Linked DNA regions of Homo sapiens: region 1 is linked to region 2. Evidence: promoter capture Hi-C in 16 types of primary human blood cells and fetal thymus (Javierre and others, 2016). All regions are on one chromosome and are shown on one strand. Each heading gives the region's core, a stretch centred on a gene start or on the middle of the fragment in contact. The rest is flanking DNA. Distances are from core to core; before and after follow the strand shown. Region 1 overlaps ARMCX5-GPRASP2 (ARMCX5-GPRASP2 readthrough). Region 2 holds the start of TMSB15A (thymosin beta 15A).

Evidence for each region. Contacts are between HindIII fragments. The CHiCAGO score rates a contact against its expected background, and 5 or more counts as called.
Region 1: a fragment that was not itself captured here is called in contact with the fragment with the promoter of TMSB15A in region 2 in 4 of 17 cell types (erythroblasts, megakaryocytes, endothelial precursors and 1 more); the score reaches 6.4 in erythroblasts.

What each region holds. Positions count from the first base shown.
Region 1 is chrX:102,896,415-102,901,057 of GRCh38, reverse strand. ARMCX5-GPRASP2 (ARMCX5-GPRASP2 readthrough) reads right to left here. Exons shown (of 19, transcript NR_146584.3): 15 at 3,294-3,484; 16 at 226-308; 17 at 1-35. LINC00630 (long intergenic non-protein coding RNA 630) reads right to left here. Exons shown (of 12, transcript NR_146589.1): 6 at 3,294-3,484; 7 at 226-308; 8 at 1-35. Among named protein-coding and RNA genes, the nearest start is that of RAB40AL, 39 kb to the left of the region's middle. The HindIII fragment of the contact is 5,900 bases long and covers 251-4,643 here.
Region 2 is chrX:102,513,733-102,518,305 of GRCh38, reverse strand. TMSB15A (thymosin beta 15A) reads left to right here and starts at 1,567. Exons shown (of 3, transcript NM_021992.3): 1 at 1,567-1,640; 2 at 3,126-3,242; 3 at 4,182-4,573. The coding sequence starts at 3,143. The coding sequence ends at 4,219. The HindIII fragment of the contact is 1,876 bases long and covers 1-1,635 here.

The sequences.
Region 1 (4,643 bases), core at 1,951-4,450, 380 kb before region 2:
TTGTGTTGAACAACGTAGACAGTATATTTTCATCTCTACAGAAATTAAAATGATTTTTCTGTTATTCTCACATACAGCTCTCTATTCAGCATATAAAGAGGCTGGAATATCTATTGGCCTTCTATATCCCTTTAACCTGGAATGTCTCCTTTTCAACCCAGAGTTTCAGAACGCTCTATAGGGTGTGCATGGGCCAGAGCCCCTCCCTCCCACCTTCCTGCTCACCGATGTTCAAGCTGTAGTTCAAGCTTCTGTCACGAGGGGGCACCATTGTACCACCATTATAGAACTCTTCTGCAAAGACGTGTCTGCAAGGAGCAAAAAATACTTCTCTTAAACCACAGCTTATAAGCCTAAGTGCAGAATGATTCATTCTAATTCTGTCAAAGGAAAAAAAAACTGGTAAGTGTAAAAGAAGACTGCAAATACATATACTGTGGGGCATCCATAGGATGAAACACCAGGTAGGTCTAACACTCCTTGGCTGTTGCTGGAAGACAGAATCTTAAGTGAGCATCAGGGCAGGTGAGAGGTGACTGAGAGAGGATGACGGCACAAGGGGCAGGTCTGGGCAGCTGTGCCCCTGGAGAGGGGATGAGTGGGAGGCAGTGGTAGAAGGACCAGGAAGCCTATACAGGGGTGGGGTAATGGAGAGTGAACGAACGCCCTGCTCTCTGGAAGGGACCCTCCTACAATGTGGAAACCTCTACCAACAGAGAAGGGAAGAGATGAATCAATGAATGCGATGTAGATTTGGGGACGACAGCAAATGGAACTGCTTTAATATACACGCGAATACTCCAAACAACTGGTATTTCAGTGAACAAACCATGTTATAACATCTGTTACTGTTTGTTAGATGTACTCCTTTTCCTTAAAAAAGAACAAATGTGAAGATGGCTGCGATGTCTCCTAGTGGCCAGAGCCAGGATTGCAACTCTGAGAGCTGACTGGTGAGTTCAGCAGGGGAAAGGGAGGGATGGAGGTTGGGAGGTTGATTAATGTGATCAGCCAGTTTTCTGGAATTTTTTACGTACCTACAGGAATCCCTCTGTATCCATCATTTTTCTGGGTTATAAAAAAGTACGTTTTCGGGGATATCTAAATCTGATATTGGAAGTACAGCATCAGTCTGAACTGGGGATAATGCTGCAATTGTGAACTGTATTTGAGGTGGTAGAGCTAGAGGAGCTAGAACACACACACACACACACTTGCGTGTGAGTCAATTCATTTTTTAAAAATCTACTTTATTTCCCCAGGAAATTGAATAAATGAATGCCTGAAGTAAGGAATATATGTGTACCATACTCTTGTCAATATGTTCACAGCATATTGTTTTTAATATTTCATCAAAATACTTTTTCCTGAATATAAAATGTAAAACAATATATAAAAACACATATATGAATTGAAATTAACCTGTATCTCTCACTGGAGCAGCTCCTAATCCCTGACCCCTAGTTGTCTGCTGTCCACAGAATGGTGCATACTGTGAAATGTGTCTCCACAAGTGAGATGCACACAAATATGTTCACCTACACACACACAGTCTGTTCCAAAGGTCGAATCACATCCTTATCTTCTTTTGCAACCTATTTTTTCCACTTTTCTTCTCAGGATTTATATTTACATCTTATTAGTTTTTGTGGTTTTGGCATAGTTAATGTGTTTATTGTTCATGTATCTAACTATTTGACTTCTCCACTGAAATTATTTGCCAAGCTCTTTGTTAGTGTGCTTCACAAAGCATGAATTCTAATCCAGTATCTCAGCTCTAGTTTGTACGGATTTTTCCAGAGTTTTTACGCTATTCTTAGTTTTTTTTAATTTAGAATTTTTCAATTTAAATTATCTTCTGACTTAAAACCACATGGATCACAATTTTTAAAAAAATGTTAAACTGCCTTGGAACATGTAATGGCAGTGCCCAAGGAGATTAGATCATTCCCGAGACCAGGAGGCACAGAGACAAACTGGAGAAAACTTTAGAATAATTCAGAATTACCTGCTAATCGAGACACAACAAAGGTATTTCCCTGATGTACAGAAACTTGCCTAAAGTACCCTGATCTGAATAATGGTCATAATTCAGTGGGTATTCTTGTGGGTAACTTGAATAGCTGTTGACATTAAAGAAGATGAAATACAGAGTGCATTTGCCTAAAGGAGTTGCGATGGTTAACACTGAGTGTAAACTTGATTGGATTGAAGGATACAAAGTATTAATCCCGGTTGTGTCTGTGTGGGTGTTGCCAAAAGAGATTAACATTTGAGTCAGTGGGCTGGGAAAGGCAGATCCACCCTTAATCTGGTGGGCACAATCTAATCAGCTTCCAGCAAATATAAAGCAGGCAGAAAAATGTGAAAAAGAGAGACGGGCCTAGCCTCCCAGCCTACATCTTTCTCCCGTGCTGGATGCTTCCTGCCCTCAAACATTGGACTCAAAGTTCTTCAGTTTTGGGACTCGGACTGACTCTCCTTGTTCCTCAGCTTGCAGACAGCCTATTGTGGGACCCTGTGACTGTGTAAGTTAATACTTAATAAACTCATATATATATACACACACATATATATGCTCACCTGTCTCAAGTACAACACTTGAGTTTCTGCCTGAGCCCACTCACCACTTCAGGCATCAGCCAACTCATGTGTCCCTACACACAGGTCTCTTGGCACAAAGAATGGGATCTCACCTCTGTCATCTTCACCCAGAAAAGTTGTTGAGTAAAGACTCATGGGGTTACAATAGCAGGTGGGTGAAATCTCACCATTTCTCAAGCCCAGAAACCCATCTTCTAAAAGGGAGGCTGCTCAGGGTACTCTAGGGAGGGTGAGGGATGGAATTTCATTCAAACCCTGCCACTTACCTGAAGAGGTGACTTAGGCTCTGTGAGCCTGAGGTTAGTCATCTGTGAAATGGGACTGACCATACCATCCTTACATAGCTGTCTGATGGGTATATGAGGAAACCTCTTGAGAGTATATGGCATGGGGTGGGACTTAAATGGCCTTTAAATGGGACACAGCACTAGGGGCTGGCTGAGCCTCAGTGCTAAGGCAGGCATTGTGAAAAATCATTTCTCATTGCTCCCCCTTATGAGAACACAGACATCTATTTGAAGAAAGCAAATGTCCCTGTGACATGCCTTGAGTTCAAAGTTTTGTAGACAGTAGTTTCTCTGCTTCGTGGGTGTTATCAGAAGCTCGTAAGAGCTGCCCAACATCATGCTTCTGAGATGACCCAAATTTAGTTCCCCACACTGGGAAGACAGGCATGTCTTTGAACTTACCTGCTGAGCTCAGAGACAGCAGCAGGGATGCAAGGTTTGGTGTTCGCCCAGTGGCTGCTCCTAGACTACTTGGTATGTTAATATATTTATTGGTATATTCTAGATCTGTCCCAAAATCACCAGTGCAGGGGTTTTCAGATCATGCATTAACCAGCCACATCGGATCAGAATTTCAGCCATCTGCTGCCTCCCTGAGAGACAAAAATCCAAGAGTTACTAGCATTTCTTCACACACAATGTCTATTCTTTCATTAGGTAATAACTAAATACCTATTGAGCTCAAACCCATTCTATTCCATCAGAGGTATCTCATGAGCTCCAATGTGATATAAAAGCATAAGGGAAATAAACATGTGGTCAACTTCAAGGGTTAATTCTGAGATAGCTTTTTTTTCACATTAGCTTTTAACTTGGTCAAGTTTCAAGAAATTGAAGATTTAAAAAAAAAATCTCTCCTTGGACCCCCTTATCACCCATTCAGCTACAGGATACAGTTCTCCCTGTCTCTGTCTCTCCCTCCCTTATCCTTCTTCTCCTTCATATTCGAAGTACCAAAAAGAGTTTTCTACATGCTCTGTTAACATTTTTCACTTCCCACTCATCATCCCACTGCCCTATGGCTTCTGTCTCTGGGATTGCCATGAACATTCTCTCCAAAGTCATAATCCACCCATTTCTTACTAGGTCCAGGTTTTGTATAAATACACTAACATAGGGCATATTACTTTTAATGAGCTCCTAAAGTATGTATGCTTGCAGACTGCTTCTTTCACCTAACAACAGAGCTTTCACAGTTTCCCAGGCTCTAGAGCATGATGCACTGGACATAAGTCCAAGCTGTCCCACTCCTTAACTGTTCAGTCTTAGGCAAAGTCATTATCCTCTCTGTCCCTCAGTTTTCCATTTGTAAAATTGAATTCTGCAATAGTATTTAACTCATAAGTGTGTTCTGGGCACTGAATGATCCAATACATTAAAAGCATATAGTACCTACGAAATGTTGGCACTTTTAAATACTTTTCACATGTCTTACTGGCATTCGTATCCCTGTAGCCATGAAAAAAAATTAGGGTATTGACCAATGTTTATTCATAATCAATGACATTTGGGGTATGATGTTTGTACATGTAATAGTTTCCTAGGGCCACCATAACAAATTATCATAAACTTTGCATATTTAAACAACAGCAATTTATTATGCCATGATTCCGATGTACAAAACCAAAGCCTGAAGTACAAAATCAAGGTGTAGGCAGGACTGCACTGCCTCCAAAGCCTTTAGGGGAGAATCCTTTCTTAGCTCTTCCAGCTTCTTGTGGCTCCTGCTTTATTTGATTTGAGGTGGCATAA
Region 2 (4,573 bases), core at 318-2,817:
GTGACTCGCACAAATGGAGATAAATGTCATCATTAGATAAGTTCTAATGATTCAAGGCAGACCAGGGTGGCAGGATTTTGAGGTTTGGGCTATGGAGGGGTGGTTGTCTGGAGCTTCCTGTCAACCCCAAGTGAAGTAAGGGGTGTGGTCTTAGCCTTGGATCACTTGTTCAAACAATGCTTCATTTTGCTCCTGGAAACAGAAATCACATTAATCTGTAATGACAGAAAAATACGCTGAAAGCTACACATCACATTCAGGATAGGACTACCCCTGGGCAAGTGGGAGGGGGAATGGAAATGAAGTGAAGGTCAAGGAAACCTCAATTTTTTCTGTAACGCTTTTAGTCCTTAAAAGAAAGACAAAGTAAGTATACCTAAATGTTAACAACATTGAAATCTGTGTAGTGAAAACACTGGTGTTTATTATATTTAATGCCAGGAACACTGTAGGTACTCAATGAATATTACTTGTTGAATGAGCATATCTTTCTGTTTTAAAAGTTTCTCCAACAAACATACACAATTCTCAAATTAACACAACGTGCTACAAAAGCAAAGAAAAGGGAATGAAGTAAGCTGGGGAAGCCTTGAGAAATCCTTGTGGAAAGAGTGACTTTCGATCTATATAGATCTATACCACCACACATGGGGTGCAAGCTAAAGACATAGTTCTACCTCCATCTTACCTTAATGCTCTAAGGTTCTGGGTGAGTATCCAGAAAATGATCTTGAACGTTTAGTCCTTTCAAGTAAATACCGAATCCTCAATTTTCTCTTCCAACAGACACTGGGTGGTGCTATTGTCCAAAACTTCCACCCATCACGTATTTATTACTTCAATCTATAGACATCTCCACAACCAATGTGTCTTGTGGGCCAAAGTGCTAGGGATTAGGGATATAAAGGTGAATAGCCTCAGTTGTTCTGTGATTATTATAAACTGCTATCGTGTTCAGTGGCCGAGAAAGCTGCGAATGTGACTTTTACATTTCATAGGAGAGCACTACTGTCACAGAAATGTCCAGTTGTAGGGGTGAATGGCCCTGAACCACCCACCCTCACTATGAGCACCCCTACTCCACGACCTGGCCAAGGATTAGAGCAGACAACACCGAGCCCCACTTCCAACCTACTGTTAGGTTATCACAGCATCCTTGGGCCCCAATGGCTATAAAAAGCCGAAAGAGCCTAAATACCGGTCATTCAGCTTGGACCTCGGAGTTCCAGATGTTCTAAGCTCACTGGGCGAGATGTGTCTGCTTATTGCAGAGGCCTCTGTTATTGTGAAAGAGTGAGTGTAGTCAGGATGAAGGGTATGTGGACCCTCAGGACTAAAGCAGTGGAAGAGGCCTGGGAGGTGGGGCCTGGGGAGGCGGGGTCGGCTCTGACTTCACCAAGCCCCGATCCTAGAGGAGAGGGTGGACGCGGGCTCTGTACACTCAAGCGGAGGAGGGGAAGGGCGGGGTGGGGGGGGGGGGGTGGCGAGCCCGGAAACCTTTGGCCAATCAGAGAGGGCTGGGGCGGGGCCTGCTGGGTGGCTTAGCACTGCAGGGCTCTGCGCGGGAACGCTAACCTGGTCCGGAGCGAGTCTGGGTCTCAGCCCCGCGAACAGCCTTTCACGAGTCTTCAAGCTTTCAGGTGAGGACCTGCGGCCTCGCAGGAGCCAGAGGACCATGGGGATGGGAAGGCGTCAGGGTTGCGAGGCGGGGGATGCCGCGCCTTCGGGAGCCAGAGGAGCCGAGGTTGGGGCTGGCGCTTCGCGTCTGCACCGCCGCCCGGGCGAGCGAGTCCGCGCCTTTGTCTTCCAGGGGGCCGCCTTCTGCGCTCGATGCCGAGCCCTCCTGGGGGCCGGTCCCTGGAAACAAGGCCCCGGGGTTGGGAGGCGGGGAGCGCGGACCCTTAAAGGGACCTGTCCGCAGTAGCTGCAGGTCGGAGGCTTAGAGGATGAGGAGTTTGGAGGCCGCCCGGAATGGGCCCCCTGGGGCTTGGTCCTCATTCCTTCTCCTCCCGTGGCCGTTAGGCTGGGCGCCAGAAAAAGCTAATAGTTATTTTTAAAAGTATGCAAACTGCTCTTGACAGACTGGCCTACGCACCCGGCCCTGCTATTATTTATTTGTTAGTTCCAGTTTTCCAGCTCTGAGCTTGGCGTCTAATGGCTTGGCAGAGGAGGGTCTTAGGGTAAACTCGACGGAATGGAGGCATGTTCGGCACTTCTGGCTGCTTGGGGGCCTCTCCATTCTACCCCAAGCACTAGACATAGTATCTTACTGCACGAGGGTGGGGCTGGGCTTGCGAATGAGAACTCTGCCCTCCGATTTCTGGGATATCCTATTGTCTCTTCTGGACAAACTCGGGACGCTTACAGGGCACCAGGCATTTCGTCAGGTCCACAGCCATGCACCTCTAAGCCTCATCTCTTTACCTCTCTCTTTGCAGAGAAAACATGGTGAAACAAGACTCGCTTTTATTTGGTTTATCCCATTCTGCTGAAGTCCTGGGTTTGATCCTAGTTAGCTGTCCCTTCTTACAACGTTTATACACCAATGCCACAAGGAGCTATTATGAGACGTGTATTGTAATGCCTTAATGTACTGTCATCTTTGGGCATTTAAAATAGAAAGAAATTAGTACAACTTATGCCACTCTTTTTTTTTTTGTGCTGCTCCCCGTCTCCTAAAAAAAAATGCCAAAAAACAAAAGTAATTTAATAGAAAGTGAAGATGCTCGAATAGTGCTATCTCCTGTTACAAAATCATTAACTGGTTAAAGCCAGTCTTTATTTTTTATTCTGTCCCTGTCTGCTCTTGTGCTTCTATCACCTCCATTTTACCCTTGCTGTGATTTTAAGAGTCAGACATATTGGCTCTGGGTTTCTGGAGAATCTTGGTTTCTGGTGCGTTCTGATCCAACGGCATTTACTGCATATCAAAATGGGCTAATGATGTGGAGTTAAAATTATTCTAACAAAAATATAACTTTTCTAAGATCTGTTGCTGTTTTTCTGTTGAAAATGAGCGGGTAGAATATACATTGATATGAAATATGAAAATTTTTGCTTGTGACCCCTTAGTCCGAAGACAGTTCTGCCAGGTAAGTTTTCTTAAAAATGTTTATTCTTTTCAGGCTATCTTCTAGTCAAGATGAGTGATAAGCCAGACTTGTCGGAAGTGGAGAAGTTTGACAGGTCAAAACTGAAGAAAACTAATACTGAAGAAAAAAATACTCTTCCCTCAAAGGAAAGTAAGTCATGGGGGGTTCTAGTGGAAACACACAGTAGAGAAAGTTAATAGGTTCAGTAAATAAACCTATCTTCTAGTAAATTTTTGCCACAAAGTAAGCAATAATTAGAGTACCATGGTGTTTAATGTAACAGTTAAAAACATCAAATAGTCATCTTCCTACTTGGGTTATATAAGTAGTTCTCACATAAGTCTTAATAGGAATGGGGGGGAAAACTAGTTTCTTGTTGGAAAATTACTAAAAACCACCTTAAAAATCAATCTTGGAATATTGGATTTAGCACTAGAAAAATCTTAGTTTTGTTCACTTTATGCTTATTAGACATTTTTCTGCATCCATCAGTTTGGGTCAGTGGTCTTATACCTAAAGATCCATGCAAACTTTGCAGTTTTGGCCTTCTCTACCTGATGATGAGATAAAGACAATGAACAAGTTTAGATCTTGGGTGCACGTAGGGCTCACAGACTCAAGGGATAAGTGATCAGTTTTGCCCTCCAGAAATACAGCCTTCTGGAGAAACTCCAAGTGTTTTTGCAAAAGTTGAGGGGAACTTTTTGTCTTGTTAGCTTTGAGAGTTCCAAAGTTAGTCAAAATTGTCTGAAAAGGTATAACTTCCTAGTTGTATATGGATAGATAAATCCGAAGAAATTGCTTCGTATCTCAGTCTTGAATCATCTAAGAAAAAATGGCAACAGCATGTCTCTATCTCTTAAATGGGAGAAAATCCTCCACAGTTATAGATTGTAGTGAATATTCAGGTAGTTAACACACACACATACATGCACACACCCTAATGTGAGGATTTGTGGTTAATGCCTTGGCATTCTAAATTTAAGGCATGTATGCAGACTTCGATGACTTAGCAAGGAGCTCTTTTGAAAGAAACTGAACTTAATCTTAGGTACATACGGTTAATGATTTTTGTGTTTGTCTTCCCAGCTATCCAGCAAGAGAAAGAGTGTGTTCAAACATCATAAAATGGGGATCGCCTCCCAACAGCAGATTTCGACATTACCTGAGAGTCTTGATTTTAGGCTTGTTTTTTGTAAACCCATGTGTTTGTAGAGATTTTAGGCGTCTTCGGATATCTTCTCACCTATGTTCCCTGGCTAAGAAGTCAGAGGTAGCCAATGTTTCCTTAAATTCATTTTTAAACTTACCATTGGTGCATATGTTCCAGATGGCAGATGCTGTCAATAATCTCACCATTGATGACCTTTGTGTATGTAGTTCTTGCATCCTATACTGGATAAGCCTGTTTTAACCTGCTATGATGGGTGCTTCCATTGCTTCATAATCTTCATGAAGTTGCATGCTTTTGCAGCTTTTCA